Regions from separate parts of the Homo sapiens genome. Here all the other regions are linked to region 1. Evidence: promoter capture Hi-C in human tissues and cell types (Jung and others, 2019). All regions are on one chromosome and are shown on one strand. Each heading gives the region's core, a stretch centred on a gene start or on the middle of the fragment in contact. The rest is flanking DNA. Distances are from core to core; before and after follow the strand shown. Region 1 holds the start of SFMBT2 (Scm like with four mbt domains 2). Region 2 overlaps PRKCQ (protein kinase C theta). Region 3 has its middle 18 kb from the start of PRKCQ-AS1. Region 4 has its middle 47 kb from the start of LINP1.

Evidence for each region. The method cuts DNA at HindIII sites, captures the fragments that hold promoters and counts their contacts. A contact is called where the count stands out against the background at its distance.
Region 2: a contact is called between a fragment that was not itself captured here and the fragment with the promoter of SFMBT2 in region 1, in 1 of the 25 tissues and cell types used here (spleen).
Region 3: a fragment that was not itself captured here is called in contact with the fragment with the promoter of SFMBT2 in region 1 in 1 of the 25 tissues and cell types used here (hippocampus).
Region 4: a fragment that was not itself captured here is called in contact with the fragment with the promoter of SFMBT2 in region 1 in 2 of the 25 tissues and cell types used here (dorsolateral prefrontal cortex and spleen).

The regions. Positions count from the first base shown.
Region 1 is chr10:7,409,766-7,412,290 of GRCh38, reverse strand. SFMBT2 (Scm like with four mbt domains 2) reads left to right here and starts at 1,257. Exons shown (of 21, transcript NM_001387889.1): 1 at 1,257-1,430. RefSeq lists enhancers at 1-87, 88-1,008 and a silencer at 1,244-1,383. The HindIII fragment of the contact is 7,941 bases long and covers 1-2,419 here.
Region 2 is chr10:6,464,867-6,467,391 of GRCh38, reverse strand. All of the region lies in intron 12 of PRKCQ (protein kinase C theta), which reads left to right. Among named protein-coding and RNA genes, the nearest start is that of PRKCQ, 110 kb to the left of the region's middle. The HindIII fragment of the contact is 8,825 bases long and covers 1-2,525 here.
Region 3 is chr10:6,596,726-6,599,250 of GRCh38, reverse strand. No RefSeq gene overlaps it. Among named protein-coding and RNA genes, the nearest start is that of PRKCQ-AS1, 18 kb to the right of the region's middle. The HindIII fragment of the contact is 3,616 bases long and covers 1-2,525 here.
Region 4 is chr10:6,688,926-6,691,450 of GRCh38, reverse strand. No RefSeq gene overlaps it. Among named protein-coding and RNA genes, the nearest start is that of LINP1, 47 kb to the left of the region's middle. The HindIII fragment of the contact is 4,159 bases long and covers 1-2,525 here.

The DNA of each region.
Region 1 (2,525 bases), core at 8-2,507:
CCTTCAGAGCGGACACCTCTCCTTAGGGATGCAGGGCGAGGAAGGGCGGGTGGAGCTGCGAACCCACGGGGACCTGGAGGACCTCTTGGCCCCCTGGAGAGGGGTACTATGAGAGGGATTCATGGGACACAGATTTGGGGGACTGGGTAATTTTACCCCCTTTGGCAACCATAAAAACCCTGAGCAAACGTGTCCATTCGCTATTTCGCAGAAATATACAATGCAGGCCCACACAGGCATCTCTGCGAGGCCCCCTAGTTAAGGGCGCAGCGTTCTTCGGAAGCTCTTGGTCTTGCTACCAGGGCGTCACCGGCTTTTCCGCACTGGGGACATTTCGTTTGGGCTCTGCGCAGCCGTTGCACCTAAGGCCCTGGGAGCTCCGCGTTCCTCCCCAGGCGCCCGGGACAAAGTGCCCGAGGGCTCCGCAGACGTCCAGCCCTGCCCGGGGCTCACGGCCGCCGGGGCTCTCCAACGGACCGTCGAGGGCCACGTTTTGCTGGGGTGTGAGCGACGATTCTTTTCCCGCCCTATGAGGCCCGCCACTAGCTAGGTGCCCCATGAGACGCCGTGGCGAGCACGGCTACCTGGCAGCTCGCCCGGGCAGCCCCAACTTAATTTCCTGCCCCTCGGGGCACCTTTCCCTCGAATAGCTCTCCTCGGCCCCTCCAGCCCTGCCCAAGGGGCCTGGAAATGTTCGCAGCTTCAAGAAAGGCTCTATTTAAGCACAGGATGGGGTGGGGCGGGCGGGGCCAAGATTGCCCTGGGGATTGAATTTATCTCCGCTCCCAGCGATCCCCGGCGGATAAAGCGCAAGTTTGTGCACACGGTCGACTGAGCCATTGGAAACCCAGCTCACGAACCGCAGCCAGGGAAACGGGAGTTTGCCCAGTTGTCCTTGCGGAGGGGTGTGCGGAAACGCCCGCGATGGGAACTTTCTGCAGATCATGTATGGAGGGAGCTCACAAAAAGGAGGAAGGGGAGCGCGGTGGGGAGGAGGCCGCGTGGGCGTGGAAGGTCCCAGGGTCCTGGGGGTGCCCGCCTGCTTAGGCGCAGGGAATGGCGCGGAGCTGGCTGGGGAAGGAGCCGATCACGTCCCGCAGGCTAATTGGCTTAAGAAATTTTGCAAGCGCTGGAAAAGGTCGTTGAAGGAGTTCGCTGCACGCGCACGCACACACATACACACACACACAAAATCTTAAAAAAAAAAAAAAAAAAAAAAAAAAAAGAGCGCCGAGCATGCGCACAGAGAGGATGCCATATTGGAATGAGCTGTAGTGGGAGCCGGAGGACCGGAGCGGGCGCGCGAGGGAGGCGGCGGGCGGGGAGCGAGCGGGCAAGGGCGGGCGAGCGAGCAAGCGAGCGAGGCCGGTGCCCTCCCGGGCGGCGACCGGGGCCTGGGTCCACGCCGAGGGCAGGACGAACTTCACCAGGTAGGACGCCGCGCCGGCTGCTGTCCCCGGCGCCCAGGCTGGCCGGAGAGCAGCCCTTCGGCCCGCAGGTTGAGTGCGCTGGTCAGGGGCTTTTTCCAGCCTAGGAAAAAAAAGGAAAAAAAAAAAAAGGAAGGAAGCCTGAGGGAGCTGGGGTTGGAGGTGGCGGGTGGGGGAAGGCTGGGGAGGGTGCAGGGGAGCGAAAGAGAAGGGCAGGAGAAGAAAGCGACTGCACTTGAGCGAAGCTTCAAACTCCTCTGTGCGCTCCAGGTTGTCATTTTTGCTTCCCGGGTCCCCTTCGCCTGCGTCTCCGGGCTCGGAAAAGCCGAGCCGTGCGGGAGTCCGTCCGGAGTTGCAAAGTGTCCTCCTTCCCCGGGCGCAGCCTGTCCCCTCCCGCCGCCCACCTTCCTCGTTTCTGCACTCATTTTAGCGACGCAGCCGCCGCTGCTACCTACCCCGCGCTCCCGCGTCTCCTCCGCGCTGGGGTCTCCCCTTTCTTTTGGTTTGGGTGGGAGAAAAAGATGGTGAGGACGGGGAATCGGAGACCGGCATGGGGGTAAAAATCGTGCAGACATTCGGAATCGCTCCCTTGGAAACATTTGCCTGAGCAACTGAAATAAAATTGGCAGTAGTAGTTTTGGAGCGTGCTCCAGCGAGGATGGTCTTTTTGTTCATTATTTTCTCTTTAAAGTAATATCCTGTCACTTAGGGGCTTTCCGGTTGTCTCCTCTTATTCGACCCCCTTTCAAAATTGCTGACTTGAGCTGGTTCTGGAGTTTATTTTTTAATATGCGTGCGTGGGTATGTGTATGTGTGTGTATGTTTTGCAGAAATCCGCCAAAATGCAACTGTAGGAACTGCGAGATGTATTTATTGATTTTGACCAGGGGCGGTGGGAAGGGGCTGGAGGGAGCTGGGGGATCCTGGAGGGTGGGAAGTGGCTGATTCTCGGTGGCCGGACACTCATCCAGAGCCTGATCCGTACTCGTGTTTTCTTGGAAGCGCCACAACTGCGGGGAAGGAGTCTTTAGAAACCGTGCCAGTTTCAATATGGCGGGCTAAGGTGGCTTTTAAAAACTGAAAATAAAGGTTTTGAGG
Region 2 (2,525 bases), core at 10-2,509, 940 kb after region 1:
CTGTCTGTCTCTCTCTGTCTCTCTCTCTCTCTCTGTCTCTCTCTCTCTCTCTCTCTGTCTGTCTCTCTCTGTCTCTCTCTCTCTCTCTCTCTCTCAGCCTGCTTGGTATCCTCTCTCAGCAGGTGGCCAGAACCTAAACGGCAGCCCAGGAGGGAATCTAATTCTGTTTTCTTCTTTCTTTCGAGAGCCATCGGCCAGAGAACTGTTCATTTGCTTCTTCTGGGAAGTATTTGCTGGTTTTTGGATTGGTTTTGGTTTTGTCTTTCCTGGCTTTTAAATTGCTTCCTAGAAGGACAGCTGCCATCAGTTATCAATTGCCCACTGAGGACCAATGCAGAGATTCATTTCCACACACACTATTTTGTTTAATACCCACAGCAACCCTAGGAGGTAGGAGTATTACTACCCCATTTCACAAACTAAATGAAGCTCAGGAGAGGTTAAGTCACGTCTCCAGAGTTATAAATAGAGGGGCTTTGAACCCAGGGCTGAGTAAGGATGAAGCCCACATTCTTTGCAATTACTCTGAGTCTCATTCTTCTTGGTTTGTTTCTATCTATGCCAGCCCAGAGTCTTTCCAGCAGGCAGACACTTCTTTTTGCTTGCGGTTCTGCAGAGGTTCTAGTCAGCTGTGGGTTGCCTTCAACTCTGAGCTCTCCTTCCCCAGCTGTTTATGAAAGTTTGAGCCTATTATATTTGTATTTACCTTTTATGATGGGATTTTGGATTCAGCTTTTAAAAGGCTTATCCATCCCTCAAAATGTGCTCCTCAAAATCCAAACCTCTGGACTGTGTAGTTTGTATGTGCATACATTTGTGCTAATTTTATCACAGAGCAGAACAGATATTTGACAGATTTATTGTGGAGCCTGCAGTTCTCTTGGGAGGGTTAAATGTGGGGCATCCAACATACTATAAATCTCCATTGCTGTTAATTAATAATCACTAGTAACGTAGTCTTCTTCTCACCCTCATGTTAGTAAACACTGACTGTGCCCTGTGATCTCTTAGACTTTAATGGCCAATTCAACCCCCCCAATGCTCACCACTAGTGTGGCGTCTGATTCAGACCTGAGAATAGGTGGGAAGGTGTGTGGAATGCATGGGAGTGGGGCTGAACTGTTGCCTCCAGTCCCCTCCCACCACTTTCTCCACATCTAAATTGACAGTGTTAAATTCTGAAATGTCAGCCTTTCTAGGAATTTGTAAGCATCCAAACACTTAGAAGAAACCGTTCACTCAAGCACTGTTGGAAATGGTTTCGCTCTACACTTTCATACGCTTTGCTCTCGTGACTACTTAAAAGAAGATTCCACCTTTGTGGCTTGTATAGGGCCATTATAGTTTGAGTAAAAAGCTGAGGTTAGAACAGAAGCTCTTTCTGTGGTGCTGATGAGAGCAAGAGGTAGCATGAGAAAGCAGGTGTGTGCAGGCAAAGCCAATGACGACTCTCAAATTGGGTTTGAAATCTGTGTTAAGTCATGATTTATGTCAGCTGAGAATTTGGGCCTGTCCAGAAGAGAAAAGGGTGGGCTTCACTTAAAGATATATGGAATTAGTAAATCAGATCGGAAACTAACATTGAAAAAAGACGGATGCTTACCTTGACCTGGATTATTGAGATAATTGCCACAATACTTGGTTTCCCCATTCTGTGGTGACCAGGCAAGGAGTCTCACTGTCAGACCAGAACAATGTTTCTACTATTACCTCCTATGCCCCACGGCCTCGGTTGGGTTCACATCAAAACGTAAAGGTTAATTCTGTTAAGAAACCACCCAGGTGAGACTTTCAGATGCAAATTCATGCCCAGACGCACCGAAGGTCCTCACACTTTATGGATTACTGATTCTGTGATGCATTACAACCCTTTAAAAAATCAGGTTTCTCTAAAGTGTTATAAATACATTTATTGGAAAAAAAAATTGTCTCACATCATTGAGTTGCTGAGGCTGGTTACAATCCTGGCTGATATGCCCACCACAGCCTGAAGACCACCCAGCCCTACTTCTGACTGTGGCCACTCGAGGGCCCCAGCTCTACTGACATACATCATGTCCTCTGCCAGAAGAACTCCGTCATAAACTGTGGCTTGCCTCTGCCATGAGTTAAGTCAGGACTGGAGAAAAATAAGGTTAAACTTGATTGCAAGCTTCAGGGAGGAATGACTGACATGACCCGCCCACTCCCCCCACGCCACGCCCACAGAATATGCTCAGTAGCTAATTACTGAGTGTTGAGTGAATGAATGTTTTCAAGCTCCGCCCTTGGAGTCAGAGACCAAAACACATTCTCCTTATCACCCTGCACCCTGTCACTTTCAATAAGTATACAATCGGCACATGCTAAGTGCCCTAAGTGCCTGGCACCATCCCATTGTCTGGCCAGCAGGTCAACTGGACTCTCCCTTGTGCCCCCCGCTCATCTGCTGGGTTGTAACACGCAAGCATCTAGATGCCACAGGGCATCCCACCTAGATTCCCCAGGCTTCCTGGGGCTCAAAAACATAGATTGTTTAAATGATT
Region 3 (2,525 bases), core at 11-2,510, 810 kb after region 1:
ACAAAAATAGAGAACTACTTGCGAGACTAAAGTATAAATGATAAAAGAGGGTAGGGAGCTGAGGGGATGAAGAGAGGTTGATTAATGGGTACTATACTAGTTCGTTCTCACACTGCTATAAAGAACTACCTGAGACTGGGTAATTTATAAAGGAAGGGGGTTTAATTGACTCACAGTTCTACAGGCTGTACAGGAGGCATGGCTGGGAGGCCTCAGGAAACTTATAATCATGGCAGAAAGGTGAAGGGGAAGCAGGCATGTCTTCATATGGTGGCAGAAAAGAAGGAGAGCGAAGGGGGAAGGGCTGCACACCTTTAAACAACCAGATCTCATGAGAACAGTAAGGGAGAAGTCTGCCCCCATGACTCAATTGCCTCTCATGAGGCCCTTCCTGTGGGGATTGCAGTTTTACATGAGATTTGGCTAGAGACACAGAGCCAAACCATATCAGGTACAAACACACACTTAGAAGAAATAAGACCTGGTGTTTGATACATCAGTAGGTTAATTATAATTAACATGAAGTGATTGCACATTTCAAAATAACTAGAAGATAATAATTTGAACATTCCTAGCATAAAGATAAATATTTAAGATGTTGGACATCCCAATTACCCTGATTTGATTATATGAATGTACCAAATTATTACATGTACCCTAAAAATATGTACAGCTATGGTGTATCAATAAAAATAAATAAATATTTTTATAGCAAAAAAGATCTGAGAGCAAAAGCTATAATAATAATATAAATTGCATATTCTGAAAACTAAATAAATGCCACCAAGAAAAAAATACTATCTTTAGGGAAGAGGTGGAACTTGAATTGGATGTGCAAAAAAAGGATTGGATTGGCAGAGGAGTAGAAAGGGAATTCCAGGCTGAGGATTGGTTTTAGCAAAAGTGCAGCATGGGAATGCATGTGGCATGTTCAAGAATTAATTAGGCAATGAGTTTAGGATAGAGAATATTTATGGAAATAGAGGGAGATAAATTTAAAGAAATAGACTGGGACTATACTACGAAGGATGATAAAGACCAGAAAAAGGAGTCTGAATGTTTATTCTATAACCCATAAGGTCTTATTGGCTATTTGGTGACTCAAACTATCAATAAGCCTTGAAGCTTGCAGACCAGAACTAACAAAATATCCCAGATAATATAGATGAACACAAGGAAGACTGCAGTGTGCTCTTGAACCACACAACTGCTACTCACAATTCTTTCGAATAATAAAAGGTGAAGGTGAGAACTTTAAGAAATGCTTAAAAGAAGGGGAAATAAAATAAAAATTGGGATGTCAGAGAGCTATATGCACTCCCATGTTCCCTATAGCAATATTCACAATAGCCAAGATATGGAATAACCTCTGTCCATCAAGGGATAAATGACAAAGAAAATGTGGTATAAGTAAAGCCTTAAAGAAAAGAAAAATCTATCATTCTTGACAACATGAATAAACCTGGAGGACATTATGCTGGGTGAAATAAGGCCGGCAGAGGAAGAGCAATACCACATTATCTCAAAACATCTCATGATGTGGAACATAAAGACGTCAAACTCATAGATGCAGAGAGTAGAATGGTGGTTACCAAGGACTGGAGGTGGGGGGGGAAATAGGGGATTGTTAAACCATACAAAATTTCAGTTCGACAGGAGGAACAAGTTCAATATATCCATTCTACAACATGGTGATTCTGGTTAACAGCAACGTGTCGTATACTTGAAAATTGCTCAGAGATTTTAAATATTCTCACTACAAACAAATGAAAACTGTTTGAGGTAATGTACATGTTAATTAGCTTGATGTAGCCATTCCACAATGTACACATATTTCAAAACATCATATTGTGCACCATAAATAGACACGGTTTTTAAAATTTCTCAATTTGAAAAAATGTTTTAGAGAAGAAAGCAAAGAAGACAAAAAGCAAGACCTTACTGCTGAGCCTGAATCCACCGGCCTGGATACCAGTGGATTTTCCTGAATGAAGTCACTGATTTTTTTTTTTTAAGTAATCATTACTTTTCAATTCTAGGACTTAGAAAATGCTTGTAACATATTTGCAAGGCAGTAAAGGATTAGTCACTGAATATATCAATGTGTTAAAATGATAAAATAATTAGGCAGGCAAGATGGAAAAGGAAAAAGGCTTTAAAATCTGCAGCGGAAGGATGGATTTAGATAGCTGCCTCATACCTCCTCCTTCTTGTTTTATATTTTTAATCCTGTTAAAAAAAATCACTCCCTCAACAAATATTCTTTGAATGGTGACTGTGTATCATGGGAAGGTTACTGGAGGCACAGGCTTAAAGTCAACACTGCTTTCAAATCTACACTCTGCCATCTACTCACCCATGGTTTTTGCAAATTGTGCGTATTTTCTGATCCTCAATTTTCTTTTCTGTAAAACAAAGATATAATATCTACCTCATAGTCTAATGTAAGAATCATATTTATAAAAGTTCTATAATATGCAATCAATTAATGGAAACTTAAAGATTAAAAAGTTTCATTTTCCATA
Region 4 (2,525 bases), core at 16-2,515, 720 kb after region 1:
TATCAATCCACGTGTCACAGCAAATGAATGCTTGACCATTGTGCAAGTCAGGATGGGCTAGGTTATGCACAAGCAAAAAGCAACCGCAAAATATCAATGGCTAAACATTCTTAAAAGTGTGTGTGTAGGCCGGGCGCAGTGGCTCACACCTGTAATCCCAGCACTTTGGGAGGCCGAGGCAGGCGGATCACGAGGTCAGGAGTTCAAGACCAGCCTGACCATGTATTACTAAAACTACAAAAAGTAGCGGGGTGTGGTGGTGCATGCCTGTAATCCCAACTATTCAGGAGGCTCAGGTGGGAAAATCACTTGAACCTGGGAGGTGGAGGTTGCAGTGAGCCAAGATTGTGCCACTGCACTCCAGCCTGGGCGACAGAGTGAGACTCCATCTCAAAAAAAAAAAAAGTGTTTGTGTAGACATATATATGTATACACACATATATACGCAGAGACACAGCTATACATATATGTATATATGTACATATATATGTATACATATTTAAAATGTTGCATTCACATTAAACGGTCAGCACCAGCCAGCAGTGCTCCACCGAAGATTTCATCTTATTTATGTGTACCTCCAGAACTACTGTTTTTTTTGTTTGTTTGTTTGTTTGTTTGTTTGTTTGTTTTAATTTCGAGACAGAGTCTCACTCTGCAGCCCAGCCCAGTCAGAGTGCAGTAGCGCGATCTTGGCTCACTGCAAGCTCTGCCTCCAAGGTTCAAGCGATTCTCCTGCCTCAGCTCCCCCGAGTAGCTGGGATTACAGGCATGCGCCACCATGCCTGGCTAATTTTTGTATTTTTAGTAGAGACAGGATTTCACCATGTTGGCCAGGCTGGTCTCAAATTCCTGACCTCAGGTGATCCACCCACCTCGCCCTCCCAAAGTGCTGGGATTACAGGCATGAGCCACCGCACCCGGCCTAGTACTACTGTTTTCAGGGGAAGAGAATGCGGGTGTATTAGTCCGTTCTCACACTGCTATAAAGAAATACCCAAGAGTTGGTAATTTATAAATGAAAGAGGTTTAATTGACTCACAGTTCCGCATGGCTGGGAAGACATCAGGAAACTTACAGTCATGACAGAAGGGGATGCAGGCATCTCTCACATGGCAGCAGGTGAGAGAGAGGAGGAAACGAAGGTGGAAGAGCCCCTTATAAAACCATCAGATCTTGTGAGAAGTCACTCACTATCACGAGAACAGCATGGGGGGAAAGTGGTCCCACGATCCAATCACCTCCCTCCCTCCACACCTTGGAATTACAATTTGAGATGAGATTTGGGTGAGGACACAGAGCCAAACCATTATCAATGGGATTCGTGCCCTGGATTTTAAAGCTTCTTCCTAGTCAGTTTCATGTCTCTTCATCACATACATTGAACAAAGTAAGTCATCCACAACCAAGTCCAAAAAGAGCAGGGATGGTGCAATCTTGCCAAATGCCCAGGAGAAGAAATGGAACGTTTGTGAACAGCCCTGCAAAGAATGGAGTCCCCTGAAGATTCACATGTTGAAGCCCTAAATCCCAATGTAACTGTATTTGAAGACAGGGCTTTTAACAAGATAATTAAGATTAAATGAGAGCCTAAGGGTAGGCCCTAATCCAATAGGACAGGTGTCCTTATCAGGAGGGGAAGAGACGCCTGGCATGTGCATACACAGAGGAAGGCTGTGGGAGGCCAGAGCGAGAAGACGGCCTTCTGCAAGCCACAGAAAGAACCCTCAGGAGAAACCAGCTCTGGCACCTTGATCTTGGACTTCCAGCTTCCAGAACGGCAAGAAATAAATGTCTGCTGTTGGAGCTGCCTGGTCTGTGTGTCTTGTTCTGCCAGTCTCAGCCGACTAAGACAAACTCAATGGTTATCCCAACCACAGTGGCTGAATCGGTACAGAAAATGCACTCAGCACTATGCATCTTCATTAGATTTCCATGGCATTATACTGAGGCGTAGATGATCTATCAAATTAAATGAACCCAGTAAAAACAAGGAGAAATCAGGTGCAAATAAATACTTTATTAAGGACTCCTCCTGTCTACACCAAAGAGTATTTTCTCAGTGTTGTTTTGCACACATTTCAGATGAGGATAAATAGCCTAGGCGCCAGCTTTCATCCCAACTTACTTTAAAAACAAAAATACTGCCAAGAGAACTGTATTACTTATTTCAATGTAATACGGAAATGACTCAGCACAGAGACCGAATCCTACCTGCTGGCTGATTGCTGTGTGTGTGGATACTTATCCAAGGTTCATCTTGCGTTTTTCATCCAAGAAGCTCACGATGGTTAGCAAACATAATCTGATCATCTTCAAAGGTACAACATGAAGAAATAAATCTTTTATATGATCAGCCTGCAGACATGCAACCTCAGGTGCAAGCCTCACCTGTAAGGTATTTCTTTTCTCACTTTTTATTCCAGCTTTATGGACCTGCTCCAGGCTGATGAAGGTTCCCCACTAGCTCTTACCCCTGACCCTGTAAGGCTTTTTCCCGCTGCCCTGGATTCCCACAGCTTCTG